Linked DNA regions of Homo sapiens: regions 1, 3, 4, 5, 6 and 7 are each linked to region 2. The links are contacts of gene promoters, found by promoter capture Hi-C in blood cells and fetal thymus (Javierre and others, 2016). All regions are on one chromosome and are shown on one strand. The core of a region is centred on a gene start or on the middle of the fragment in contact, and the rest is flanking DNA. Distances in the headings are between cores, read along the strand shown. Region 1 holds the start of LOC124905056 (a long non-coding RNA gene). Region 2 holds the start of RBM11 (RNA binding motif protein 11). Region 3 overlaps USP25 (ubiquitin specific peptidase 25). Region 4 overlaps USP25 (ubiquitin specific peptidase 25). Region 5 has its middle 270 kb from the start of USP25. Region 6 overlaps USP25 (ubiquitin specific peptidase 25). Region 7 overlaps LOC105369302 (a long non-coding RNA gene).

Region 1 (3,841 bases), core at 371-2,870, 1.3 Mb after region 2:
CTCCTAGTTTTTCTGCTCCTATCGGACACCCCGTCAACTCTCTGACAAGCTTCTTCAACTCCCTGTTCAGGTGAATATTTAGTTCCATGACAAAGGGCTCAAACTTTGATTGAAGGTCACCCCTTCAGCATTGAAACTGGAGGTTTGGAAAGACTGACAGAGTTCTAACTCATCCATTGGAGTTCCAGCTCATTCTCGTGGGTTCCAATTTCTCCTTGCTCTTCACCACTTTGCCTTTGTCTTTTCTTCACAGGTGGCTGCCTTCCTGATTCAGACTTCAGAATCAGGCACAAAGACAATAGACTCTGTTAGACCATTTAAGCAACTTCCAAAATTACATAAGGCCAGTTGGAATTTTTTCTTATAAAAGGCAAACCAAAACCAAAACCACATTTTTCTCTCTACTCTCACTCTTAACACAGAATGCCTCTGTGACCAAACGCGTGGGTTTTTTTTCCCCTCAACACATCAAGCAATTCTTTAGCAGACACCAGTTGGGTGTCCTATAACTCAAATCAATTCTGACACTGTGTGATCCCACAGGTTAAGAGTCAGATCCCACAGGTTAAGAGCTCAATCCCACAAAACTGCCGCCCTACCTTAAGATGCCAATTGCAAGGCCCAGGTTGTGACCTGTAATCCTGATCAATGGCTATAGCAACTGGGATTCCCACAGTCTGCCTCCTTGTGTTCCATAATTTGCTAAGACAGCTCACAGAACTGAGTGAAAGACTTTACTTACATTTACTGGTTTGTTTTAAAGGATATACAGGATATGGATGAACAGCTAGATTTAAGAGATGGCTACAAGTCTGGGGTAGGGGATGTCACAGTTTTCATCTTTCTCTCGGTTTGCCACCCTCTCAGCACCTCCACATGTTCAATAACCAGGAAGCTCATTAAATCTCGTCGTTCAAGAGTTTTTATAGGCTATAATCTCCAGCACCTTCCATCAGGTCAATGGGTGGGGTTGAAAGTTCCAACCCTTTAATTCTTTAATCCCTTGGTCTTTCTGATAACTGGCAGCATCTTGAGGCTATCCAGGGGCTCTATCCTAAATTGAGATATTAGGATAAATACAGGTGTGATCAAAGGGGGTCCATGAATAACAAAAGACACTCTAATTACCCAGGAAATTCCAATGGTTTTAGGAACTAGGTGACAGTAACTGGGTACACAGATCAAATGTATTTCATTCTTAAGGGCTCTGTTTTGTCATACTGAACCTTGACTCATACAATGCCCACCATGTACCTAGCACTGATCGTATGGATATAAAATAAAAATTAATTTTATATTCTGATCATACAGATATAAAAATTAAGCCAATCTAGTGAAGAAGTCTGTGTTAGTTTGTTAGGGCTGCCATAATAAAATATCACAAACTGGGTGGCTTAAACAACAGAAATTTATTTTCTCACTGCTCTGGAGGCTGGAAGTCCAAGCTCGCGGTATCAACATGTTTAGCTTCTCCTGAGGCCTCTTTCCTTGGCTTGCAGATGCTTGTATTCTTTCCGCGCCCTCACACAGCCTTTTCTCTGTGTGCGTTCCTGGTGTCTTTTCCTCTTTTTATAAGGACACTAGTCCTATTGCATTAGGGACTCACGTTTTCTACAGCAGATACACGTGTCGGCAATAACTTAAGCATATGCTGAGAATGACCCTGTAGTCTAAGAAGAATGTGTGTTCAGAGTTCTGAAACCCTGGCCTTTCCCTTAGAACACAGGCTGTCCAGCGGATTGAGGCCCTTTGTTTTGGGTTAAATAGTGATTGCTAGATGGATGGTACTGTGTGAAAATACTGTATGAACTGCATGCTTTTTACAAATGGTAGCACTTCTCCTGTTCAGCTCGCTGCCACTGGACTGTCCCTGAAAGCAAGTTCCCCCAAAGAACCCTGTGTCTTATTCCTTGTCTCCAGGTCTCTTCTTCAGCCTCTCAGACACAGTGCCATCCCTATTGGAGTAAATAGGGGTTCAGGATGACACCTTTATGACCTCGTTTAATCTTTATTACCTCTTTAAGGAACCTATTTCCAATATAGTCACATCTGAGGGTTAGGGCTTCAACATATGAGTTTGAGCCGGACACAATTCTTTCCATGACAAAGGCAAGTAAATAGGAAAGTATAATTGCACCTGAAATATGCTAGATGCAATTATAAAATGTCATGGAAATCCATACAAAAGAAATATAACACAGTTCTGGAAATGTAAATTCAGAGATAGAGTGATTATATAATGTATTATTCAAATAGGGACACTTGTAAGAGTGAAAAGGTGTATTAAAAAGAATTTAAAGGCACTAATTATTTTTAAGCAGGCATAATCTAGAACTTTCCCAGGAAAAGTAGGAGACATATGCACCCTATTCAAAGAAGACCTAATGGAAGAAATACCATCTAAACTGAGACCTAAAGGAGGAAGGGAAGTTGAGACAAAGGTGAGAAAGAAGGGAGTGTACTCCAGGTGAGCAGGCAGAAAGAACATAGTCAGCAGAAAACAATAAGCTGGAGAAACAGTGTGCCATGTTTGGAAAACTGCAAGAGATTTCACATGGCTGAAATTATGGGGGCAGAAGGTGTCAGGCAAGAAGCAAGGCTAAGCAAGATTTAGAGGATAACAGAATTCCTTAAAGAGTTTGGACTTGGTCTGTAGCAGGTGTGGGCCATTAGAGTTTCAGTCATGGAAGCAGCATTGTTTAATTCACATTTTTTAAAGATCTCTCAGATTCGATCAAGACAGCAGACTCCGTCAATTCCTGACTCTTACCAAATACCTCTTTTCCCCCAGGGACAAAGAGCATCATCCAAAAGGCCAAATAAATAACAGCCATGGGAAACAATAAGGAATTCAGAAATGGAAGATTTGCATAAAAACAGAAATTAAACAGTATCAGATAGACAAAGAAGCCACAGGCCAGTGTATGAACAAGAGAGAAAAAGAGGTAAGAGAGAACCTTTTACCTCTTTTCATAAGGGTGTCCCAACCTTATGTGGAAGAGATACAGGACAAACATCAGTGCAGAACACTGAGGAACTCTATTTAGAGCAGCTGAGCAGGTCGGCCTCTACTCCTAATCTCCTCACTCCCAGATCTGAGGGGACTAAAGAGTCAGCTTCCAAGGGCTCTCGTTAAAGATGGGCAATTTGAGTGTCAATAATGATAACTACAATAGATTGAAGTGCATCACATAAGCTTCCGTCTATAATGATACTTTGATAACACAAATTAGCTGCCACCAAAGGATACCAATAAATTGTTTTAAAACTGTTAAATAAAGGGAAAGATTCAAGCATTTATCTTGCTTTTTCTATATGAACTGTACCAAAGGGTAAACAATACTAGATGGGATGTTTCTCTTTATAGAAATACTTCAGCTAATAAATGAGGAAGGAATAATTTAATTAGTACATAACCATTTTACAACTATAAATGAGGTAACGGAGTAGGTATTGATAAGCAATAGCTGCTAAAACCATGAAAGTAAACCCAATGGACATTATGTGCCTCTGAATAGGAGAACATAATATTACCTACGAATTAATTTTGCTAAAAGAAAAAGTTAAACCTGAATCTAATTAAACATCTAATCAAACCTTCAGACCAATTACTAATGTGCAGGAAATTTAGAATGATAGAGGTTACAGTCAGAAAATCAACAAGACAAATGACCTATTTTTCTTAACAAACAAATTACAAAAATAAAAAAGAAATGGAGAAAGACTACAGATTAGAAGAGTAATCAGAGACATGCCTATCAATCACAATGTGTGGACCTTATTTATACCTTGATTTAAAAAAATCAACTGTACACCAAAATTGCGATATTTATGTCACAGT
Region 2 (3,840 bases), core at 89-2,588:
AATGGAGACAGGACTTATATCAGTTGAAGGTAACTACTGAAGTTACTAGCATTTATATTATATTTGTGAGGGTAGAAAGGCTGTCTCTCCCAAAGTATAAGCTTTAGGAGGTCAGACTTTTATATTTCCCTTTGTTTTCCAAGAATTAAGCATTCAGAAAATACCTATTAAATGAAGTAACTATATTTAGTCCAATCCATTCCTTAAGAAACAGAATCCGAATTCCAAAGAGAAATTACTTGTTCAAAGTAATAAAACTATGTAATGTCAGAGATCAATTAGAAATTAGGATTTCCTAAAATGTGTACCTTTTCATTAGAAAAGATGACTTTTTTTGGTCCATCAACCAGATAAAAGCATGCTTCCTCAATTCAAAATGAAATTTTATCACGATGCCAAACTAAAGGTCAAATAATGTTCTGATCACCTATATGATATTCATGAGATGATCTCAAGGTCCTATGTAGACGTATGGTAGCTTCAGAAAGGAAGCCAAGTTAACAGTTGACAGCTGATTTATCAAAGTATTGAGATTCTAAGTTTTCTTTCTCCTTTCTTGTAATTTTATTGTTCATAAGACTTTTATTAAAAACAAAAATTATCCCCAAGAAAGAACTAAGCCTTTAGCCTGGTACACCATATACAAAGTATAGCCCTGAAACAAAGTACAGCCGTTGGATCCTGACACAAACCCTAGCTGCCATCCTCAAAAATTCTGGCTTAGACACAAAACTGGCTCACTCTCACCAGTATATCCCTTGGTATTTGCTTTCTCAAGTTCCTTTTGGAGTCCACTTAAAACCTCTGCGACCAGTTTCAAAAACTCATCTAGGGAGCACTTTCTAGGAAAATAAACTTTAATTCTAGTTTTCTGTTGTATCCACATCCATGCAAACATCGATTCTTTCAAAAATTATTTATAGTTTAATATCTTCATGATTTGTTCATTTATTCTTTGGACCCAAAGAAATGTATCTCCCCGCATTTGCCTGGGAGCTTCTGCAATGAAGTTACCACAATTTAAATCATCTCTACAGTGACTTTATTTAAAATGTTGATTGAATAAATCCAAAATCAATTAATGTGCCAGAAAAAAAGGAAGCCACCCCACTAGCTAAAGAGTAAAGCCCTTTCTGCATTCATCTTTCTTACTCTCACCCACTCTCCCACCGCCCAGCCCTACGCCAGGCGAGGGAGCAGTGCGGTGGGCGGTACCCCAAGTCCGCTGGGGGCGTGGCCCTGGAGCCATGCCTCGCCCCCAGCGCGCGCTCCCGGCGCCGGCCCCGCCCCCTCACCCAGGCGGCGCCGTAAAGCCGGAGAAGGGGCGGGGTCTCAGCTCCTACTTCATTCTACGGCCGAGACCGGAGGATGTTCCCTGCTCAGGAGGAGGCCGACAGGACCGTGTTTGTTGGGAATTTAGAGGCCCGAGTTCGGGAAGAGATTCTGTACGAGCTGTTCCTTCAGGTACCGTCTCTGGGAAGGGGCGGCGGAGGGGCGGAGCACGTCGGGCCGGAAACATAGCGCGCACCTGGACCACCCGGAGCCCGGCCCCCTTCCGTCCCATCCTGAGCAGGGGTTTTAATTTCGTTTCCTCTTGGCGCACCTGTCTCCAGGTGAGCGGCTGGGGAGTGAAATGAGGGCGCGTTCCCCATCCCCATCCGCGCTGCAGAGTCCTGGGGTTGGGCAGGGACGTGGTTCCTTCAACCCCCGTTTCTGATTAAGGGCTTCCCAGAGGCTGCCTGGGCCTCGGGTGTGCGCGGGCAGAACCGAAAACAGCCTGGTCACTGTTCTCCGTCAAGTAGTAAGCACGCCTGACATCCCCCAAAAGGAGAGGGGTCGCTTTTATAATGTTTCCTTTTACACCTTGCTCCTTCCTTCAAGCCCTTTTATGCGGACAGTATTTTTATTCCAGCATGAAAAGTGAGATTTGAGATGATTTGGCAGCCAACTTACCGTGACTGTGACCAGGTGATTCCCTGGACAAGGCCCTTTAATTCATACCAAGAGGACCTTCGGAAACTTTGAGATCTGGTACCTCTAGGATTAAGCCTGCTGTGTCCTGTATACACGCTCACTTATCGTATTGTCCTATACAGCTAGGTATCACTTGCCAAAAAGATACACTCATTCAGCCATTCCCCTAACCGTGTAATGATCCGGAATTACGGGGCAAATACTGAGGGTGCTGGGAAAACAAATTGACGAGACATCCTTTTATCTTCCTAACAGGGAGAACTTAAAATTACAATGTTTACGATAATCTATAAAAAGAGAAGGGACATAGATAGAAAAGTGGTTCCGCGTGCGAACTCTGAGGTCAGCAGTGTGACTCTGAGCCTGTCAATGAATTCCTCAGTGCTTCAGTTTCCTTATATGTCAAAAGAGAGTAGTAGTATCTGCAGTATAATGTGGCTATCGGAATATGTGGCCTAATGGTAAAATGGCTACAGCTGAGTCTAGCACTCGCTGTTTGCTACCGCTACTACTGCTAATGGTACTGCTGTTATTATTAGTAATAATACTAACATCAAGAGAAATCAATAGTTACTTTCTCCTATCAGAATAAGGGAAAGTTCCGAGGGAGGCAATTACAGAACTAAATTTTCAGGATTGAATGGGTCAAAGGGGTCCTTTATTTGGTTGTGAAAGGACTTACTTTTGTCTCGAAACTTAACTAAAGCAACCCTCTTTTAATTGTAGATACAATTTGGTAGAGAGGGTTCTTTCCAGGAATACAGTTTCCTTTCCTGGACGTAAAACTTTTTTATTATTTGAAAAATATTATTGATTTTAAGACTTTTAGGTTCATCCTTTTAATTCATCTTTTTAAACTTGCCTCCTTTTTTATGAACTCTAATCCATATCTGTTTTTTCATTCAGTATCATTTAAAACTTACTATATTAAGTTAAAAAAAACAACAACAAAAACCGAAAGAAATATAAAGTAAACTTAGAGTTATTTTTCTCCAGAAGACTTCTTTCACTTTGAGCCTCCAAAAAAAGGAGAGTGGAAGACTGGGGTGGGATTGCATTATCCAATAACCATTATTTTTAGTCAATCAGGACTCGATCAATATCAGTTGTGTGGATCCACAAGACTATATATTATCTTCTCATTCTTTATCAGTTCCTTCTTCCACCTAAGCAAAATATAAATTTTATTTAATAGATCAGGTAAGAAGCATAAGTTCTTATTTTTGTCTAGGTATTGAAAGGAATTGCCAAAGTGGAGTTTCTCTTCCACTTTAGACTTCAACACCCAGCAAAACTTGACAACTATCACACTATGTATTTCATTGTGATTTAAAAAATACTGTAAGATAGTGTGATTGTTGCTAAAAGTAAGTCTTCATGTTGACTTTTATCTTTACAAATGCTTTGAATATCTAAATTTATGTCAAAATTCAAATCACGTAAGCATGTTCTGTCCCATAGTGATTACATCTATTTAATATCTGTATAAAAATCACCAATTTTATTGGTTTTTATATTACAGTATATTTATCCTTTTACTATTTTCTTTCAAATTTCTGATTATACTTGGAAATGAGAAAATCAGATTTATTATCATTACACTTTTAATACTAGAGTTGAGATTTAGAGAAAATATGGTGAATTCAGTTTCAAATATGTTGAGATTGAAGTACAAAAACATAGACATCTCCAGGAGGTGTCTCCATGAAAGAGACATGGTGGGAAAAGTAAATTTGTTGATGAGGTGGTCCTTGAAGCCAGAAGGGAAGGGAAGCTAGTCCCTGGGAGAGCACAGAGAATGAAAGGAAAAGACTAAATCTTAACACACAGAATTATTTTAAAGATGATCATTAATATTTTTCTTTA
Region 3 (3,927 bases), core at 1,144-3,643, 1.6 Mb after region 2:
ATTTCTTGTGGAAAAGTTATTTATGATTTACAGTGCCATTGTCATTTCTGACCAGATTGGGTCTTCTTATGTTGAATTGCAAATCTCATTTTTATTAAGTTAATATCTGCATATAAATAATCACCTAATTGTATATATTACAACAGTTAGTAAGCCCCCAGTGGATAATGACTTTCAGTTATTTAATCTGTTTGGCATTAATTCATATCTTTAAATAGAATATTTGGGTTTTTTATTCACAGTTTACACATTACCTGTTGAATTTGCTTCTGTGGAATATGAATGATGAGCTCTCTTTCTTTTCCTGCGTCGCATACATACACTGAGAGACACAGCTCCTATCCCCCATACACACACACACACACACACACACGTAAAATCTTGTAATTTTGATTATATCAGAATTCTGCATTTGTAATATTATTATGTATGCTATATGTGATTGAGTTATATTATAAATATTACTACTTTCTGTTTTTCCCTTAACTTTTGTTTTCCTTAAACTTAGTTGTTTTGTTTTTTGGTTTGCTTAGTTTATGTGTATTACTGATTTAGTTCAAAGCTGTCCACTGCTTGTTTAAATCTCCTCTCATTCTGCCTTTACCAGTTTTATCTTCTTGGGACATCTATTCTGGAGCTTTATGACCTGCCCCAATCTGTATTGGTTTTTCTTTTCTCCTGATCCATAACTAGTAACTTGAGATCTCCTTTCACCATCATTCTGGGGATTCCCTTTGCATCCTTTCCTTTGTGTATTTTCCATATTTCATATATTTTTCTTTATTGGTTTGCTCTATGATTTTGATAGTACAGCAAGAAAGCATGGGCAAGAATCAAGTTTGTGGAAGAGGGACAGAGCATTTTCTTAAATAAGTTATGTTATATTGCAACTCTCAGCACATAATCTAAATAAATACTGTGGTTAATAAACTTCAGTGAATCTGAGGTAAAAGTTTTCAAGTTGCTTTGGAGATTGAGTCGAATTTGACGTTTTACTCATAGCATAAGGAAACTGTGCTCTTTGTCAGATGTTAAAAATAATTACTACAGAATTTCTATTTCACTAACCATTCTCCTTACTATCATCATACTCCCTTTCTTGCTTTTTTTTTTCTGCTGGAAAAACACTTACAAGAATAGTGGGAATGTACATTAGGAAGGAAGTAGTTTATATGTTGATATTAGCAGCCAGACTGCCTGGGCCGACTGCTTTCTAGCTTTGATTTTGGGCAAATTATTCAATCTTTGTATCTCAGTTTCCCGAGGTGTTAAATAACTATTTATTTTATTGAGTCATTGTGAGCTTTAAATAAATTGTATCAATGTTACGCTTTTAAAGTAGTATCTGGTTGATAGTAAATGCTCAGAATTTAGCTGTTATTGTTGTTAGTATTATCACGAAGCTTATCTTATGTGTCCAGTTCTGGTCCACATATAGTCGGAGATGAAAAATGAGAAAAATGAATGTGCCATATCTGTGTCAAGGACCTTTATTTGCTAATAGAATTTTTTTAACTCATTTGTTAGAAATTGTCAGTACCATTTTGGAGTAACAAAATTAGCAGTTTTGTTTGGCTTAACCTAATAATTACTATCATAAAACCCTCTTTCTACCTTTTTATGTCTTTAGTGTGTGTATATGTTTATAAAATTTCTGAAGTTTGTGTACATTTGCACCTATCTGTGATTGAGTAATACATGAGTGTAACCCCTTTATGTAAACATACATCAAGTTGTTTCTAATTAATGCATGTTTTTGGTAAAGGTAGAAGCATTTGGACACAACTCTAGCTGATAATATGTCACCTTAAAAATTTTTTCGTATAAAAAATGAAAGTAATGTATACAAAATGCAGTTGTATTCAGTAATATAGAGGTGTCTAAAATAAAACTAACAATGACAGTCTCTGCCACTGCCATGGCCCTATTGTAACCATTCTTAGCACTGTGTATCTTGTTTTTTTCTTTTTGTTTATAACAATGCACATATACAGAGACTTAAAATTTTTTTAATGTAGATTTTACTGTTCATAATATTTTGTAACTTATATCACTCAGAAATCTATTGTGGGCTTAAAGTTTAGACAGTATCACATTATCTTTACTAGCTGTCTGTATACACACATACACATGTGTACACATGTGTACACACAGGTACACACATGTACACGCACACGTGTACACATACATGTACACACACATGCACACATGTACACCCACACAGTATTCCATGCTATAGATATATTCTCATTTCTTGTATCTTACCCTCTTTATGGACATGTGTCCTATATTTTCTCCCAGTCTACCATTTCTATTTGAATTAGTTTAGAGTACTTTTTCTTAAACAGGTTTTAAAATAGTATGTTCGTTTTCCTACTTTATGGATTTTTTTTGCCATATTAAAAGATCTACTCTTACCCAAAGTTATATAAATTTTCCCACTACTTACTTAAAATACTTTTCTTAGTAAATTTTTATTTTTTAAATTCAAATGCTTACTGTTTAACTCATTAGCATTTTATTTGGGCTTTCTGCGTTCTGTATTAAATGAATTTGGTGTTTTTCTATTTTGTGCTGTCTTCATCAAGTTTGCAATTAGGGTTATGTTAGCTTTGGTAAATGAATTTGAGAGCTTTCCTGTTTTTTTTAATACTTAACCGTGTTAGCGTTGGAATGATCTGTTCTGTTAGTTAGAACTCACTCGTAAGATCATACGAGCCTAGCGCCTTCTTGCGGGGTAGATCTTTTAACACATTTTTTTGGTTCATTCCATAGTTATTGGCATGTTTAAATATTCTTCCTTTTTTTGATTGATTCTAATCATCATCATCATTCAGTATTAATTCATAAAATATGTACACACCATAGAATCTAACATATGGTTGCTGCTTCTGTCTTCCTGTTTCCCCTCAATTAGATATAGTATTTTTAAATTTTTGTTCTTTTTTGTGCTTAGTGTATTATAAATTGAGGGAAAAGTTGTTTGTTTTGTTTTGTTTTGTTTTGTTTGAGGCAAAGTCTCACTCTGTCGCCCAGGCTGGAGTGCAGTGGTGCGATCTTGGCTCACTGCAACCTCTGCCTCCCAGGTTCGAGCAGTTCTCCTGCCTCAGCCTCCTGAGTAGCTGAGACTACAGGGGCCCGCCACCACACCCAGGTAATTTTTGTATTTTTAGTAGAGACGGGGTTTCACCATATTGGCCAGGCTGGCCTCAAACTCCTGACCTTGTGATCTGCCCTCTTCGGCCTCCCAAAGTGCTGGGATTACAGATGTGAGCCACCACGCCCGGCCGTGTTTTTGTTTTTTTTTAATATCTCTTCTGTCCTGCCACGTCCTGAAAAAATCTTGGTCGGGTCTATTTTACATTAGCTTTTTGGCTATGAAAGAAAGCTTTTTAACTCTGTGCCTGTTTAGGTACTTCTGAATATGGATTTCCTTATGTATTATGATTAGACCAACTTTTTAATACTCTGAATGTTTGCTAGTGATAAGAATAGTGATGCCACTGTCAGCCTTGTTATAAGAAACTTAGGTCTGAGTAAGTGGACTTGCTAAAGTTTAACCTCCGAATTAGGAAGTTACCAACCCAGTCATAGGAACTCTTTCAACCACAGGCCATCATCCCACGTGAACGTCTACCCAATAAGAATGCAGTATGAAAAAGTTAATAGGCAAAGTTGATCTGGAAAAAAAAATGCAATGGGCTACACTACACTAACTTGAGTCCTTCTTCAAATTGACTTTAATGGTTAAAACTAGTTTCTACTATAGAAAATCCCCAAATAATAGTGGCTTACGGAGAGAAGATTCTGTTGTGTAAAAATGAAATTCAGAGGAAAGCAATACAAAGTTACTATGATAAGCAAAAATAAAAGCCAGAAGATAAAAACAAAATATTTTCAAAGTACTCGTTGCTTGTATATATGTGT
Region 4 (3,848 bases), core at 1,008-3,507, 1.5 Mb after region 2:
GGAGTTTAACTGACATATGACCTTTGTTTAGGAACACCCAACTGGTAAGGGAAAAACGCCTTAAGTGAGCACATGCACAATTTCAGTAAACACACTGTGCGTGCAGCCCCTCCCCAGTGCTGGCAGGCCACTGCACCTGTGGACAGCCATCCTGTAGGAGGAATCAGGGGAGAAGAAATGCAAACCCTGGAAGCATGCCAGTGTATAAAACCCCAAGTCAAAGGTCAGCTGTTCACTTGATCTTTCAAGTTGCCCGCTTGGCCCCCTTCCAAGTGTACTTTACTTCCTTTCATTCCTGCTCTAAAGCTTTTTAATAAACTTTCACTCCTGCTCTAAAAACTTGCCTTGATGTCTCTCTCTGCCCTATGCGCCTTGGTCAAATTCCTTCTGAGGAAGCAGGAAGTGAGCTTGCTGTAGACCTGTACGGGTTCGCCACTGTTAACACAATAAAGTTATTCTTTCTCCCTTTATAATTTGTGGAAGAGAATTTAAAATGATGTAAATATTCTGTTCCTGATCAAACTTTCATTCAGTAGTTTTATCATCCATTGAAGATTCCTGACTGAATTATTGCTGAGATAAATGTGAAACATCTTTTTAAAAAAGATTTCAATAGATCCTATTCTATTGACTAGGTTTGCTTTTCCTATCATATCCATTGTGATTTTTTATTTCATGGTACTGTTCTATAGTGTTGGGAACTTCAAGAAATACAGAGATGTAAGGAGGAAGTTGGTTTTTATTTAAGGGCCATCAGGGGAGAGTTTGATAGTGAAATCCTATCTCTCTACCTCTTTTCCCTTCCAGTACAATGCAGTCAATTTTATAGGCCAATAGCATATAAAGAACTGAAGCAAATGGGGGCAAATGATCTATTCAATTTAGAATCTTTTATGACAGATTGGACAGTGAAATGATCTTCTTTTTAAAGTAGATCTGAAGATCTCCGTGGTATAATTACCCACCGAGTTATGTCTTGCCGAAAGCATGTCTTTTCCAAAGGTGTTTCTCTCCTTGTGCTTACCATCATGGATAAGGCCCCTTTTCTTGTTAGGTGGCATAAATGAGGGGATGAAGAAAAGGACAGAAACTGCTAATTCAGTAAGACTTATTGGGGAGTAATGTAGAGAAGTTACCTTTTCGAAACGTGAGAATGAAATAAGGGTTCTCCACAGCATGATTCATTCTTTCTAAAAGAATGAAGTTGTTTGGCCTTTCTCAAGTTCTTTTTCCTTTTTTACTCTAGTTTACTTTATTCTGTTTTTTGTTTGTTTTGGAAAACCAAAGGTGATTTGTTTTCTTTTCCTAGTATATTTTCAGAGTTGAGAATATAATGATTTTGGGTTTTTCCTCCCTCTAGCACCAGCAGACGTTTTTGAATCAACTGAGAGAAATTACGGGGATTAATGACACCCAGATACTACAGCAAGCCTTGAAGGTATGGCCTCTGTTTTATGATATACAGTTTGTGGTATATGCTCATCTCTAGTGCGTATTATATTTGATAGTTGATTTTTTTTTTGGGGTATACCATGTGGTAGTTTTAGAGATACAGGAATGGACTTTGTAAAGTAAAATCCTCAGTTAACACACTGCGGTTTTGAGGATGTTAGCTTTCAGCAGTCTGATGTCCATGATACCTTAGAGTGACAGATAACCTCTTTCTATATATGAAATGCTTTTTGTGCAAGATAGTGGGATGTGAATCCTAATTCTAATGGATGGTTTTACTTACGAGCTGTGATTTTAGAGTTTAAATGAGGGTTCAAGGTGGGGTGTATTAGAGGATGAGGTGTAAGAGAAGGGAAAAGTAGAAAATTAATAGAAGTCTGAAAACTTACATTTTTCTTCTCCTGAGAAGCAGAGATATAAATTTGCACCCATTCAGCTAATTACACCCTAAGTTAAACATTCAATTTCAAACTCTTCAGTATAGGCAACAACTAAAATGTATCATTTTGGTCATATCTTAGTTGGACCTTCAGTTTCACATCGACATCCAAATGAGTCATATCATATGGATACTCACATTGAAAAAGAGTGAATGAAAGCTATTTAAGAACCAGAACTGTACAGTATTTTAAGCTTATTTGCATATTACTACTATAGGCTAAAAACAATATAGCATTTTTGCCACTGCAGTCATATACACAGCTCCAATCCTTTGGAACTTGATTTCAAGCCTAGAGTTCTTTATTTGTTTTTAGAAATAATCTATTAGATGATTATAATAAAAGTCATTATAACAATAAGTAGTACCGATTAAACATTTAGTACTACCAGGCAGTATTTTAAGTACTGTATGTGGGCTAGCTCATCCTAATAATAAATAACTCTATGAGATAAGTATTAGTTTCATCCCCTTTATGAAAAGATGAGCAACAGAGAGGTTAAAGTAACTTGCCCAGGATCACACAGCCTGTATGTGGAGAAGCTTGGAATAGAAACCAAGGCAGCCTGATCCCAGGTGCCACACTTAATTTATGCTTCTTTTACTAGAAGCTTTGCTTCACCTTATTCCCCCATCAGGAAAATCATGAAATAGTAGTGTTTAGAGCATTAATGCGGGGTGTATGAAGCCACTGTAAGTATTTGGAGAGGAAGCAGAAGTGCTATACCTCAATTTTTATGATTATGACGTTTAGATAATTGCTAGTCCCTTTTTATTCTGATAAATATCATTACTAAATTCCATGTTTGTTTTCAGAAACTGCCTTTTTCATTATGTATTACTGAGTGTGAGACCATAGCCTATCACCTTGCCAGGGTAAATTTGGGGAATTTGCTTTTTTTTTTTTTTTTAAACTTAGAAAATATGTAGCTCGAATGAAGTCTTATCCACATTTCCTTTGATAGAGGTTGTGTGAGCATAGGTATTTTTAATTTTCCAAAATTTTTGTTTCAGTTACCAGTAGCTAGGGGAAAAGAGTGTATTTAAACCTTAATTGTTGCCCATTATAAATACTGACGAGAAGTCTACTTTTGAGCACTGTAATGTCATTGATTAATTTCAGTACTTTTAATTTGAGAACATATTTTTAGCTCTAAAAAGTAAATGAACTTCAATTTGTGTAAATTCCTGCTGTGTTGTTTTAAATTATTATATGAGGTAATATATGAAAAACACTTAGCACATTTCTTGGCATATAGTAAGTGCTCAATAAATGTTAGCCATCATTATTGCGCTTTATTTTATTGTTAGATTACTTATTTAACAATAGTGTATCTTACATTTTGGATGAGTCACTTAGGAATCGTCTAATGATCATGACAGATAGCATTTTTGAAAGTGGTGGTGCCTTTGAAACTGCATCCTTACTCCTTTTGTCACTGACTGCTACAACTGGAATTGGGGTAGGTCTTGGGGACTTTATTCTGCCAGCTGCTCAGTCCTTAAATTTTGGAATCATCCTGATCCTACTTCTGTCATGTCCCACATTTAATAAGATAGCAATAATATTGGATGCTGTCTTCTGCCCTTTCTCTCCTCTAGTCTATTCTTAATACATGGAGTAAACTTTTTAAAATGTAAGTCATACTATGTCATTCCTTTCCAAAACACTCCACTGGCTTCTTATTACACCCGTGTGCATGTCTAAGTTCTTAGGGAACCTACAGAGCCTTCCATGTTTTGGTTTTCTGTTACAAAGATAGCTTCGTTGTGAATATCTGGGTTTCCTATGTTGTTTTGGTTAACTGTTTTAGAGCTAACGTTTTACTTGCTGTCAGTTGTGCAGAGAATATAAAGATGTAACTGGGCAAGTCTCTTCTCATTTTGCTGTTTTAAATTAAAATTCTTATTCTGGCATCTGCTTTCTTCTAAATAAACTTTAGAATAATTTTATTCA
Region 5 (3,949 bases), core at 515-3,014, 1.2 Mb after region 2:
TACATTGACCTTAATATTTTTCTTTTCTCTAAACATTGCTCCATAATGTGTACATTTCATCAGGGTGGTATAGGTCATTCAGAATCAGGGCCCTGCTAATAATTTCTTTTAAGGCCCTCTAATTATTGCTCATTAACAGAATTTCCAAGATAATCTTTCCAACACAGAGCATTGTGTTACCAGGGTCTTCCAAATAGTAGATGTTGTGCCTATTTTCTTCTCCTTCTAACTCATACTTCCCAAACTAATCCTCTCCCTTTTCTTGCCCAATCTCTGGAATTTTCATTGAATTACTCTTTTCTAACTTACACCTTATCCGTTCATGCCAACAAATCCCCTATAGATAAGCCTAAAGTTTTATATGTGGAGAAATGACACCATTGGCCAGTGGCTGGGTAACCTAATGGTCTCCCTGACTCAACTTTCTCACTTCAAGCCCTCATATAGTTTTCAGATTAGTTCTTCTATAGCCACTAATTAAGGCATGTGCTTCCACTGCAACAGAATCTTCTATGGTTTATTACTCTTTACCCACATTAAAACATCTCTGTTTAGCTTTCAAATCCTCCCTAAAGCATCCACCCTTCTAGTGATCTTATTTCATTTCTCCCTCCAGTGACACCAGTTTACTTATTGCTCTATAAACACAGAAAGTTTATACCACTACCTACACCTTTGTTTATCTCCTATCTGCAAATTCCTGTTTACTTTCACCTATGACATTTTCTCAAGACTCAGTACAAGTGCCATTTAGTTTGTAAAGCCTTCTTGGACTATCACAATCATTAGTGATATTCCCTAATTCCCTTTACCACTTGCCAATGCTTCAGTCACTTCATTATACACTTCTTTATATTTTGTGTTTAGTCTTGTCTCATGTGTTTTAATTTTACCTTCCCAATAGGATTATAATTTTTTTGAAAGTCTGAACCATACTGTATATAATCTATTTATCCCTTTGTAGGGTTGATAAGCTTCTTATTGTCTAGCAAAATCTAACATGTCTTAAGTGCTAATAATCATTTATTTTATTTGACTCATTATTAATGCCTGACATGGCAGGTGTTGACATGTACGTAATAGCATTAAAGAGGGTCCAAAGGACCAAGCTATATTTCATGTTGTGGGTGGTACTTTAAGCAAATATATTTATCATAAAATGGAATAGCAATTTTTCTTTCTGAAAGTCTGAAGCTGAAAAATTATTTGACCTATCTCTCCTGAATTGGAAATATCTAACATCAACCTTTAGGATGAGAGGATCATTTGGCTGCGCTATCTGGTATCCATTTGATTTCTGGGTGGAATTAGTTCATCTGGCTTGCTGGCCAGGTGTCCTATTCATTCCTGGATGCTGAAATCATGAAAAAAAATTGAGAAGATGAGCATCCCATTTGGAGAAGAAGGAACATTCTACAGTCAAGAATATAAAAGGAGCTCCACCTTCTCTCTACCATATTTTAGGAAACAATAGCAAAAATCAGTATTTCTACACACTAAAAGTAGTGTCTATGCCTAACTATTATACAGATTTGCAAGGTTTTTATTTTTAAATCCTTGGATTTCATTGCCTTAAATTAACGAAAAGATGATTTTAAAATAGTGAAGTTTCCTTGGAGATATGCAAGAGCTAGACTGCAAATTCCATCCAGGGAAATGAGAGATCATGTCTACCTTATTTCTAATGTGTCCCCAGAGGACAGCACAGTGTCTAGCATCTAGCAGATGTTCAGTAAATGTTCCTGGATATGTCAATGAATAAACATATGAGATGATAAGTGTTCATAATAAGTCCAAGCATTGTGGACTCCACCTACCAGTTAAGTACAAAGATAGTCTCATGGATGTTAATATCCTACATTTATTGTTCCTAAACTATCCTTCTGTTTAACTGTAGGAAGTCAAGTGTTTTGTAGCTTCCCTACCCAAGTATTCTAACATCTCCAGGGGCACTTGTTAGTTTTTATTGCTTGCTGCTAGGGCTAGCAACCCAGAACTCTCCAATCTTTGGCCCTTGGATTCATGGAAAAACTGTTCCAAGGTTAAAATATTGTTTTCCTAGCCACTGCCGTTATGGCCACAAGGGGAATCTCGCATGCAACATGCCAGTGAAACTGGGCCTGTGCCTCTGTCATGAAGGTGGAGGGTAATTGGGTGGTAGAAAGGATACCCATTCTACATTAGGCTTAGCTAGTGCTTCTAATGGCAATTTCGGTTGAGTCTCAAGGATTAGGCATCCAGTACTTCACACACTCACTCACCCCCATAGAGAATGAGCCAGGATCCTAAAGTTCCAGGCCTAAAGGTCAAGGCCTCTTCCAGGCTGAGACTCTCCTCTCATTGCTATCCTTCCCGCCTGCACCACATGGGGTCTCTTGCATTTTTCCATGTCGCTGAAATCAGAACTAGCACTGCCTAAAATGCAAGATATTTCTTCTCCTGGAAAATCTGCCATGCTTAGAATGTAATTCACGGATAAAACCCTCACTGCCACCTATGCAAAGTGAGAGAAACAGTGTTCCTTCTCCAGTATACTCAGCCAGGGCTCCTAGAACAAAGCTTCTTCAGTTCCAAATGTTATCATGTTTTCTTTGATGGATCATTCAACTAACAGGTTGTTTGGTCCTGTTGAAATAAGGTTGTTTGGTCCACTTCCTGTAATCAGCTGGCAAACTATACCCACATCCATTAACCCCCTCCCCACTCAGGACCTACTGCTGACTCCAGACCACTGGATTATGCCACCCCTTTTCTTTGATGAGTTCCTTCTCATTGTTCCCTTTCCTTTGTCCTCTGAGATCACTCTCTGCCACCTCCAAAACATCAGATATGGCTGAACCTTTCTGGTGAGTGGGTTGAAGTCTTTCCTTTCTTCTCTTAGATCCTACACAAAGGAGTGGTTACAAAGGTGAGTTATGGATGCAAAAATCTTAATAAAATACCGGCAAACCAAATCCAGCAGTACATCAAAAAGCTTATCCACCACGATCAAATCGGCTTCATCCCTGGGATGCAAAGCTGGTTCAACATATGCAAATGAATGAACATAACCCATCACATAAACAGAATCAATGACAAAAGCCACATGATTATCTCAATAGATGCAGAAAAGTCCTTCAATAAAATGCAACATCCCTTCATGTTAAAAACTCTCAATAAACTAGGTATTGATGGAACAAATATCAAAATAATAACAGCCATTTATGACAAACCCACAGCCAGTATCATATTGAATGGGCAAAAGCTGGAAGTATTCCCTTTGAAAACTGGCACAAGACACAGATGCCCTCTCTTATCGCTCCTATTCAACATAGTATTGCAAGTTCTGACCAGGGCAATCAGGCAAGAGAAAGAAGGTATTCAAATAGGAACAGAAGAAGTCAAATCATCTCTGTTTGCAGACATCATGATTCTATACTTAGAAAACCCCATTGTCTCAGCCCAAAAACTCCTTAAGTGGATAAGCAACTTCAGCAAAGTCTCAGGATACAAAATCAACGTGCAAAAATCACAAGGATTCCTATACACAAACAATAGACAAGCAGAGAGTCAAATCATGAATGAATTCCCATTCAAAATTGCTACAAAGAGAATAAAATACCTAGGAATACAGCTAACAAAAGACATGAAGGACCTCTTCAAGGAGAACTACGAACTACTTCTTAAGGAAATAAGAGAGGACACAAACAAATGGAAAAACATTCCATCCTCATGGATAGAAAGAATCAATATCGTGAAAATGTCCATACTGCCCAAAGTATTTGAAAGATTCAATACTACTCCCATCAAACTACCATTGGCAGTCTTCTCAGAATTAGAAAAAAACTACTTTAAATTTCATATGGAACCGAAAAAGAGCCCTAATAGCCAAGACAATCATACACAAAAAGAACAAAGTCAGAGGCATCATGCTACCTGACTTCAAACTATATACTACAAGGCTACAGTA
Region 6 (4,225 bases), core at 1,711-4,210, 1.6 Mb after region 2:
TGCAGCAAAATAAGAAAAATAAGGACAGTGCTCTGGGTGGGGTGTGTGCACTTGTGTGCGTGTGCGTGTGTGTGTGTGTGTGTGTGTGTGTGTGTGTGTGTGTGTCAAGTTGCCATCTGTCCTTTCTTGGAAGGAACTCTCTTTTATTCTTTTCTATTCTATTTTTTCTTTTTTTTCAGAATAAGTTATTCTGAACTTTTCTCTTTCCTACTTTGCTGCTGTTAAAGTGTACTTAAAAAAATGGATTATGGTAGATTTTATTACATTTTTTTCCTTAAATGTGAAAATATAATTCCCTATTATCATTCCCCAATTTTATGCTGATTTATTGATTTTTGAAAAAAATGAACTATGTGACATGGTTGGAATTATATTGAACAATATTGATTGTTGGATATTATATGACCAACTTAACTCTTTATAGACAATATTTGAAAAAGAATGGCCCTAATTTAGTAAGAAGTACATAAGGTATGATGGTGACTAACAGCATTAGTAGCTGTCAAGATTTTCTTTAGTATTTTTCAAATAAGAGGGAATTTTTAAAAATATTTGAACTCATTAACAAACATTAATCAAGCAAATAGTGTTGATGAAGCACTATATTAGGCGTTGGGTAATTTTCTACTCCTCATGGCAGGTTGTTTTTAAAAGATTACATTCAGAGGAGTGGAAGCTAGGAAGCTTTTGACACCTAAGTAGTGGCATTGAGGGAGGGAAGAAGTGAATGTACTTAAAATACTCTTTGGAGACAACTGACAGATGTGGGTCATTGGCTAGAGGTAAGAGAGAGGGACGAATCGAATGATTCTCTCAGTTCATAATGGTATGAATAACCAAATAGAATGTATTTTGGAAAAAAGGTAAAGCAGTGGGCAAAGAGGTTCCCACTCAGGGGAGGAAAGAGAAATATGATGAGTTCTCTTTTGGCCATTTTAAGTTTGAAGAGCTTTTTTGAGACGGAGTCTCGCTCTGTCACCAGGCTGGAGTGCAGTGGCATGAACTCGGGCTCACTCCAGCCTCTGCCTCCCAGGTTCAAGCGATTCTCCTGCCTCAGCCTCCCAAGTAGCTGGGATTACAGTTGTGTGCCACCACACCCAACTAATTTTTGTATTTTTAGTAGAGATGGGGTTTCACCATGTTGGCCAGGGTGGTCTCAATCTCTTGACCTTGTTATCCGCCCACCTCAGCCTCCCAAAGTGCTGGGATTACAGGCGTGAGCCACCATGCCTGGCTGTTAAGATTTTTATATGTAATACTATGGATCAGGAAAGAAGGTTTTCCTCAGGATATTTTTTTTCTTTCTTTCATCCATATTGATGTTAGCAGTTAGCATTATTTTGTAAACTATTGTGTAATATTCCAACACACGGGTATGATGTAATTCATTTAATTCCCATATTGATATTTCCTAAATAGTGCTGGTCTTCGATATACATATTTATACACTTCTGTAAGTAGGATATGTTCTTTTTTATGTTCAGGGGTACATGTGCAGGTTTGCTATAAAGGTAAATTACATGTCTTGGGGGTTTGGTGTAAGATTATTTCATCATGCAGGTAATAAGCACAGTACCTGATAGGTGGTTTTTCCATCCTCACCCTGCTCCCACCCTCCACCCTAATGTAGGCCCCAATATCTGTTGTTTCCTTATGTCCACCATTTCTGGTTCAGAGTGTGTATATTTTAAATTTTGACGACTGTTTTAAAATTGTCACTCCAAAACATTAAACCAGTTTGCATTCCCACTGTGTGAGAGAGCCTGTCTCCCAGTATCCTCCCTAGCCCTGGACACTTTTTAGTAGTTTTTCACAATTGAAAAACTGGTATTTTAGTGTTTTGATTTGCATTCCCTTAGCTTCGAGTGAAGTTGGATATTTATATTGTTCTGTAAATTTCTTGTTTGTGACATTTGCCCATTTTTTAAGTATTGAGCTATTTGTATTTTTCTTATTACTTAATAGAAAGTTTAATGTATTGTGGATATTAACACTTTACCTATAATATCACATATGCTGCAGATATTATTTTCCCAGTTTTTCATTTGATTTTATGTTGGTTTTGTTTTCTTTTTATAATGTAGATTTTTTAAAGTGTTGGGCAGGGAGGATCTTATCTTTTCCTATAAGGTTACTAGTTTTCTGACAGGCTTAAGACAGGTCTTTCCCCACTCTAAAGTTAGCCAGTTTCTTTTATAGTTTTTCAAGGTTTCTTCCTGATTGGTTCAGCAGCTTCACAATATGATGTGGTTACAATCTAACCGTTTCCTTATTGACAGATATTTAGGTTATCTCTTTTTTAAAAATTATTGTGGACAATATGACTGTGAACATCCCTATCTGAACAATTTTGTAGGATTATTTTCTACTAGAAGTAGAAATAATTGTCATGGGAGTGCCATAATTTTATTTTCACTGGTGATTATAGTCGATTTTTATTCAGTTATGTGTGTGTACAAGATATGTGGTGAACATGTTTTACTTTGTTCTTAAGTTTACTTGTGTTATAGCAATATGTAAGGAAGCTTAGCTTTCATTTTCATTGAAACTCTCCTTTATAGATTTGAACAAAATTCACTTTTATTGGCTCTGCACATTTTCTAGATAAATCATATTTGTGTTGTTTTTAAAGTATGCATTTGTACTGTGTCTTTTATTAAGAATAACTATAATTCATTTTCTACAGATTTCAAATGGTAATGTTTTTTAAGAAAAGTTTTAGGAAAATTTTCCTATTCCTCTAACATGTTTGTAGGAAAAACATTAGTCCTTATCTTATAAGTAGAAACACATTTGCTGTTAATCATTAAATGACACCTTATATCCTTAGATTTGCAGGAAAGCATATCCAGAATCCATCGAACAATTGAATTAATGTACTCTGACAAATCTATGATACAAGTAAGTGAAATTTTGAGCTAGTAATCATTGTCAAAATTATTTACATATATTTTAATTTACCTTTACATTATCTTAATCTAATTTTTCTTTACATGTTTTGTTTTAAAATTTTGGCAAATCTTATTGTAAAATAATAAGGGCTTGCAATATGTACAATGTGACAGTTCATCTGAATGGGGAAACTTTTATAACAAATTTATAACAAAATTCATGACAAGTTTTCCCCATTCAGTTGTATTTTCACACCGTATGTGTTGTGTACCCTTACTATTTTACAGTAAAATCTACCAAAGTTTTTCAAAAGGCTATAGCATCTTTAAAAAGTCTTATGGGAGAAAATCTATGGTTGTTAAAGGATATTAAGATTTGGGAAGAAACTTAAGGACTCCATTACATTTTAACTTCTGGTGTATATCATATAATCTATTTTGTTAACCGTCAATTTAGAATTCTGAAGATGTAGACACATTTGCTATATGTAAAACTGCCCACTATAAGCTTTTTATTCAAATAAACAATTAGGCCAATGAGTATGTACACAATAAATACATTTTTAGTTTTTCAAAAATCATCTTTTTAATCTATCAACTTTGCATATCTTTAGCTTATTCAGATTCCGTCTTTTTAAAGTTTTATAGTTTAGTTTTTTTCAAACTTTTAAGCCCAGCCAGTTCTCTCTCATTTAAAAAAAAAAATGCTCTTATGGTTTTCTCCAAACAGGTTGTTTGTGGGTTTCATGGAATGTGGTATATAGTAAACTACATAATTGCAGTTTAACTCTTCTTTTTTTCACATTTAGGTTCCTTATCGATTACATGCCGTTTTAGTTCACGAAGGCCAAGCTAATGCTGGGCACTACTGGGCATATATTTTTGATCATCGTGAAAGCAGATGGATGAAGTACAATGATATTGCTGTGACAAAATCATCATGGGAAGAGCTAGTGAGGGACTCTTTTGGTGGTTATAGAAATGCCAGTGCATACTGTTTAATGTACATAAATGATAAGGCACAGTTCCTAATACAAGGTAAGAATATATAGGGTGGTGTGTATTTTTAAATAGTCATAAAAGTGGCTCTGGTATGTGGTGTGATTAGTTAAGTGTAATTCACTCAGACGATGAAGGATGTGGTTAGGAAATGCTACTGGGTTTTGACAAGACTGAATTGAAAAGTAATGTCGTCAGGGCTAAGAATTCGTATATATTTTGTATTCCAAGTCAACTATTAAAGGTAAATATGACCTTTTTCGTCCTTGCTAAAAATGCTTTAGTGACTGTTCCACAGATTGACTCACATTTAATATTTAATTCCTTAGCCTAAC
Region 7 (4,057 bases), core at 1,030-3,529, 1.4 Mb after region 2:
AGGTTGGTGCCAACGTTTGCACCAACCTAATACTTAATCTCCTCATTACTACCACTAACAGAGTCTCAAAAAAGGAAGACATACCTATAACAAAAGTCTAGAAGCAAAAGTTTTGGAGTTAAATGACCTGCTTTTGCCTGGGCACAGTGGCTCACACCTGTAATCCCAGCACTTTGGGAGGCTGAGGCGGGCAGATCATGAGGTCAGGAGATTGAGACCATCCTGGCTAACATAGTGAAACCCCATCTCTTCTAAAAATACAAAAAATTAGCCGGGCATGGTGGCAGGCGCCTGTAGTCCCAGCTACTCGGGAGGCTGAGGCAGGAGAATGGCATGTACCCTGGAGGCAGAGCTTGCAGTGAGCCGAGATCGTGCCACTGCACTCCAGCCTGGGCAACACAGCAAGACTCCGTCTCAAAAAAAAAAAAAAAAAAAAAAAAAAAAGATCTGCTTTTGTTCCCAGTTTACAAATCACTCAAATTTCAATCTACTCTCTTTCTCTTTTGTATTCCCATTGCTCTTTGTAAATACTCTCTTGAAACATTTAACACACTCCTTTTCTCTCACCATACATAAAATCAGGTGGTATGTGTTAATTCATTTCTGACTTTTTCAGGCCTTAATAATCATTAAAAACAATTAAAGAAGATAAGAAGGAAGGAAGGAATGAAGGAAAGAAGGAAGGAAGGAAGGAACGAAGGAAATCATTCTATTCAGATTTCTAATAGCCTGTCTATCTAAACTTGGAGTTGAGGTAATGTATGATCCAAGAGGAAAAAGAAGCAACACGGATAGCTTAAGCGAAAATTAAATTCCTGTAAAGGGTGAAAGTTTACACTTTCTTTTTAGGTGGAAGCTTGATTAGACCACTAGAAAAAAAAAAGAGTTAAATTACTTCTTTCTCTTCCAATAGTCTTGTTTATTACATTGCAGCAAACGTTTGTATATGGAATTGCTTTTTAAAAGCAGGAAATCTGCTTCTCTGTGAACACTGGTTTGTAGCTCCTTTTTCATTTTCTTGACTAACAACTCAGTTCTATAAATTGTTTCAGTAGTTCAATAAACAAGTGCTAAATTGTGAGCTCCCTAAGGATAATGACTGTGTCTTATTCAGTAATGTTTACCAGGAGCCTCACTAATACCAGGAAGGCAAGTTTGCCTACATTTACTCGAGAATATATTGTTGTTAATTCTCTAAAGACCAGTGGAGTACATGTTCTCTCAATGTCTATCCACATGGCAAAACTGTGTGAAGAATAACAACCAGACAGACCTCAAATTTGCTCATTTGATGATTTATCTTGTTTGATGAAAGGCACGATAGCCTAAGAAAACTCTCTTTTCTCAGATACTATTTGCCTCAGATCAATAGTATGCAGAAAATACCATCACAGGACAAAAGAAAATTGTCTTGACTGCAACTAGAGCACAAAGGGGAAAAAGATGTAACAATCTAAATTTCAAGAAAGAAGTCTCAGTTAAAAGCATTGCTCTCAGAAGTCTTTTCTGGTGCCTCTGCAGATGATCCTATTAGATGCTAGCAATTGCTAAGATTGAAATACTCCAAGGTGAGAGAGAATGCTTCGGAAACACAGACTAGATGGCCTATGATTCGTTAACTTTATTAAACAGCACTGTATTTCCTGAACAAACAAAAGAGTACACTGGTATGTTCCTGAACTTTTAAAGTTTTGCATTTGATGGAGTTCAGGACACACTAACCCAGGATGTGGCATCTTGACATTTGAGAAAATAGTAGAAACATGAAGGTCACTCTCACCTTCCCCTTGCCCCTTCTCCTCTGAAGCAGGCCATAAAATGTAGAAATAATTCTCTGACCTTCTCTCCTGTAGCAGAGAATAAAATCAGCTGACTTTCCCGTGAAGCAGATCATAAAATCCTGTTTCCTGAGGTGCCCTCCTTGTACCTGGAGGGAAAGAATGTTCTTATCTCTGAAGTCAGAGGGACACAGAGAAGAATCTGAGCAAACAGGCCTTGCTAAGATGGGGTTTGTTACCATTAGATCATACCTTGTTAGTCCAATTACACTTCTGCACAACTCTCCACTCTTCCTCCTACCTAAGCATAAAAATATACGAGTTTCCCTGTTTCTTGGGGTCTTCATTTCTTATTTTACTTTGTTTGTTTCTTTCTTTTTTTTTTTTTCTTTTTTCAAGTAGGAGTCTTGCTCTGTCACCCAGGCTGGAGTGCAATGACACGATCTCAGCTCACTGCAAGCTCCGCCTCCTGGGTTCAAGAGATTCACCTGTCTCAACCTCCTGAGCAGCTAGGATTACAGGCATGCACCACCACTCCCAGCTAATTTTTGTATTTTTATTAGAGACAGGGTTTCACCATGTTGGCCAAGATGGTCTCGAACTTCTGACCTCAAGTGATCAACCTGCCTCTGCCTCCCAAAGTGCTGGGATTACAGACGTGAGCCACTGTATCCGGTGGGTCTTCATTTCTGAAGGCTCCCATGTCAGGCAAAACTTATATTAAATAGATTTGTTTTTCTCTTGTTAATCTATCTTTTGTTACAGGTGCCTTAGCTGGGAACATTGAAACAGGTAAGGAAAAGATTAACACTTTTTCTCCTTTGCACATTTAACTTAATTAGAGTACACCAGACTCCAAGTCTCTCTTACTTCTTGCTTTCTTACCCCATGCCTAGCTTTAATTCAAATTTGGTTTAAATGGTTAATTGCCTTAGAAGCCTGGTAAAGTAGTTTTTATGTTAACTAAACATCAAATGTGAGTAAATCACTCTGCTAGATGCTTTACATAGTCTACCCAATTTTCCCTTAAACAACTTCCCAAGGCTTATGTTTTTTTTCCTATTTATTCTTAGGAAAACTAAGAGTCAAGTGATCAAGTAACCATCAAGGAAACATTCATAATCTTTCCATTGGACCAGGTCTATCTCCATGTTTATTCAACACACAGTGGCGTCAAATGGTATCCTCTTTATAAAACTTGCTCAAATTAGGGATTCTTCCCCCTCCTTCCCCATCTCCACCTGGAACTCCAAGGTATGAGAGCAATCTGGCTCATCCCTTCAATCTCCCAGGTGAACCAGCATCCAAAGAATTCCTAGCAAGAACAACTTGGCATAGTGAAAAACAACGTGCCAGTTGAGGAATTAGATGTTCTGGGCTCCATTCACCTGACCAGCTGTGTTACCTCTGCCTGATGATTTAACTGCTCTTAGCCTTATGTTCCTTATCTTTCACTGAGGTTAACCATCTAGTTACATAGAATATTTTAGTTTGAGTTATAATGGAATCTCTAAGAGAATAGGTATATGTTGTAAGTATTCTTTAAATTAACATTTAATCCATAAACTGCAAATTAGGGACATTGCCCACACTTTTTAATTTTATTTTATTTTATTATTTTTGAGATAGGGTCTCACACTGTCACTCAGGCTGAGTTGCCATGACACAATCATGGCTCACTGCCGCTGTGACCTCCTGGGCTCAAGCAATCCTCTCACTTCTCAGCCTCCTCAATAGCTGGGGCTATGGGTGCCTGCCACCATGCCTGGCTGATTTCTGTATTTTTAGTAGAGATTTGGTCTCACAATGTGGCCTAGGCTGGTCTCGAACTCCTGGGCTCAAGTGATCTGCCTGCCTCAGCCTCCCAAGGTGCTGGGATAGCAGGCATGAGTCACTGTTCCCAGCTGCTCACAACTTTAAAAAAGAAAGCTTAGTGTCTCAACTACATTCTAATGTCATATGGATTATGTTCCAACAAATTCTTTTTCTCAAAGAAAACAATTATTTAAAAAATCATTAACATGTTTGTTTATTATTTGACATTTAAAATGTGCTGTTTTTATATTGAAATAACTCTATCCAAAGTGTACGAAGAGAGAATGGATTCCCTAAGATGGTCAAGTGCAGCAGCATGTTAGCTATCAGACAATAATAAATTGGGAATGACAGATAGTGCTGACCATGGTGCATTCCATAGTGAGAATGGTAAGGACTTAGCAGCTTCCCATTAAATTAATGAGAACCCTCAGCCTTTTTGGCCAGCAAGATTAAGCAACATA

What was found. Contacts are between HindIII fragments. The CHiCAGO score rates a contact against its expected background, and 5 or more counts as called.
Region 1: a contact is called between a fragment that was not itself captured here and the fragment with the promoter of RBM11 in region 2, in 4 of 17 cell types (monocytes, megakaryocytes, M2 macrophages and 1 more). The highest score is 11.0, in monocytes.
Region 3: a contact is called between a fragment that was not itself captured here and the fragment with the promoter of RBM11 in region 2, in 3 of 17 cell types (M0 macrophages, M2 macrophages and naive CD8 T cells). The highest score is 9.3, in M0 macrophages.
Region 4: a fragment that was not itself captured here is called in contact with the fragment with the promoter of RBM11 in region 2 in 1 of 17 cell types (total B cells); the score reaches 5.7 in total B cells.
Region 5: a fragment that was not itself captured here is called in contact with the fragment with the promoter of RBM11 in region 2 in 1 of 17 cell types (total B cells); the score reaches 7.1 in total B cells.
Region 6: a contact is called between a fragment that was not itself captured here and the fragment with the promoter of RBM11 in region 2, in 6 of 17 cell types (activated CD4 T cells, naive CD8 T cells, naive CD4 T cells and 3 more). The highest score is 8.8, in activated CD4 T cells.
Region 7: a fragment that was not itself captured here is called in contact with the fragment with the promoter of RBM11 in region 2 in 6 of 17 cell types (total B cells, naive B cells, M0 macrophages and 3 more); the score reaches 9.0 in total B cells.

The regions. Positions count from the first base shown.
Region 1 is chr21:15,560,459-15,564,299 of GRCh38, forward strand. All of the region lies in intron 2 of LOC105369302 (a long non-coding RNA gene), which reads right to left. It overlaps LOC124905056 (a long non-coding RNA gene), which reads left to right and starts at 2,802. Exons shown (of 2, transcript XR_007067935.1): 1 at 2,802-2,945. The HindIII fragment of the contact is 3,147 bases long and covers 48-3,194 here.
Region 2 is chr21:14,214,819-14,218,658 of GRCh38, forward strand. RBM11 (RNA binding motif protein 11) reads left to right here and starts at 1,339. Exons shown (of 5, transcript NM_144770.5): 1 at 1,339-1,464. The coding sequence starts at 1,369. RefSeq lists a silencer at 1,156-1,385. The HindIII fragment of the contact is 12,542 bases long and covers 100-3,840 here.
Region 3 is chr21:15,851,155-15,855,081 of GRCh38, forward strand. The region is part of intron 20 of USP25 (ubiquitin specific peptidase 25); the gene reads left to right. Among named protein-coding and RNA genes, the nearest start is that of USP25, 120 kb to the left of the region's middle. The HindIII fragment of the contact is 1,985 bases long and covers 1,402-3,386 here.
Region 4 is chr21:15,761,531-15,765,378 of GRCh38, forward strand. USP25 (ubiquitin specific peptidase 25) reads left to right here. Exons shown (of 26, transcript NM_001283041.3): 2 at 1,361-1,438. Among named protein-coding and RNA genes, the nearest start is that of USP25, 33 kb to the left of the region's middle. The HindIII fragment of the contact is 349 bases long and covers 2,084-2,432 here.
Region 5 is chr21:15,459,629-15,463,577 of GRCh38, forward strand. No RefSeq gene overlaps it. Among named protein-coding and RNA genes, the nearest start is that of USP25, 270 kb to the right of the region's middle. The HindIII fragment of the contact is 1,585 bases long and covers 973-2,557 here.
Region 6 is chr21:15,827,701-15,831,925 of GRCh38, forward strand. It overlaps USP25 (ubiquitin specific peptidase 25), which reads left to right. Exons shown (of 26, transcript NM_001283041.3): 15 at 2,831-2,901; 16 at 3,701-3,929. Among named protein-coding and RNA genes, the nearest start is that of USP25, 100 kb to the left of the region's middle. The HindIII fragment of the contact is 874 bases long and covers 2,524-3,397 here.
Region 7 is chr21:15,585,325-15,589,381 of GRCh38, forward strand. The region is part of intron 1 of LOC105369302 (a long non-coding RNA gene); the gene reads right to left. Among named protein-coding and RNA genes, the nearest start is that of USP25, 140 kb to the right of the region's middle. The HindIII fragment of the contact is 2,851 bases long and covers 855-3,705 here.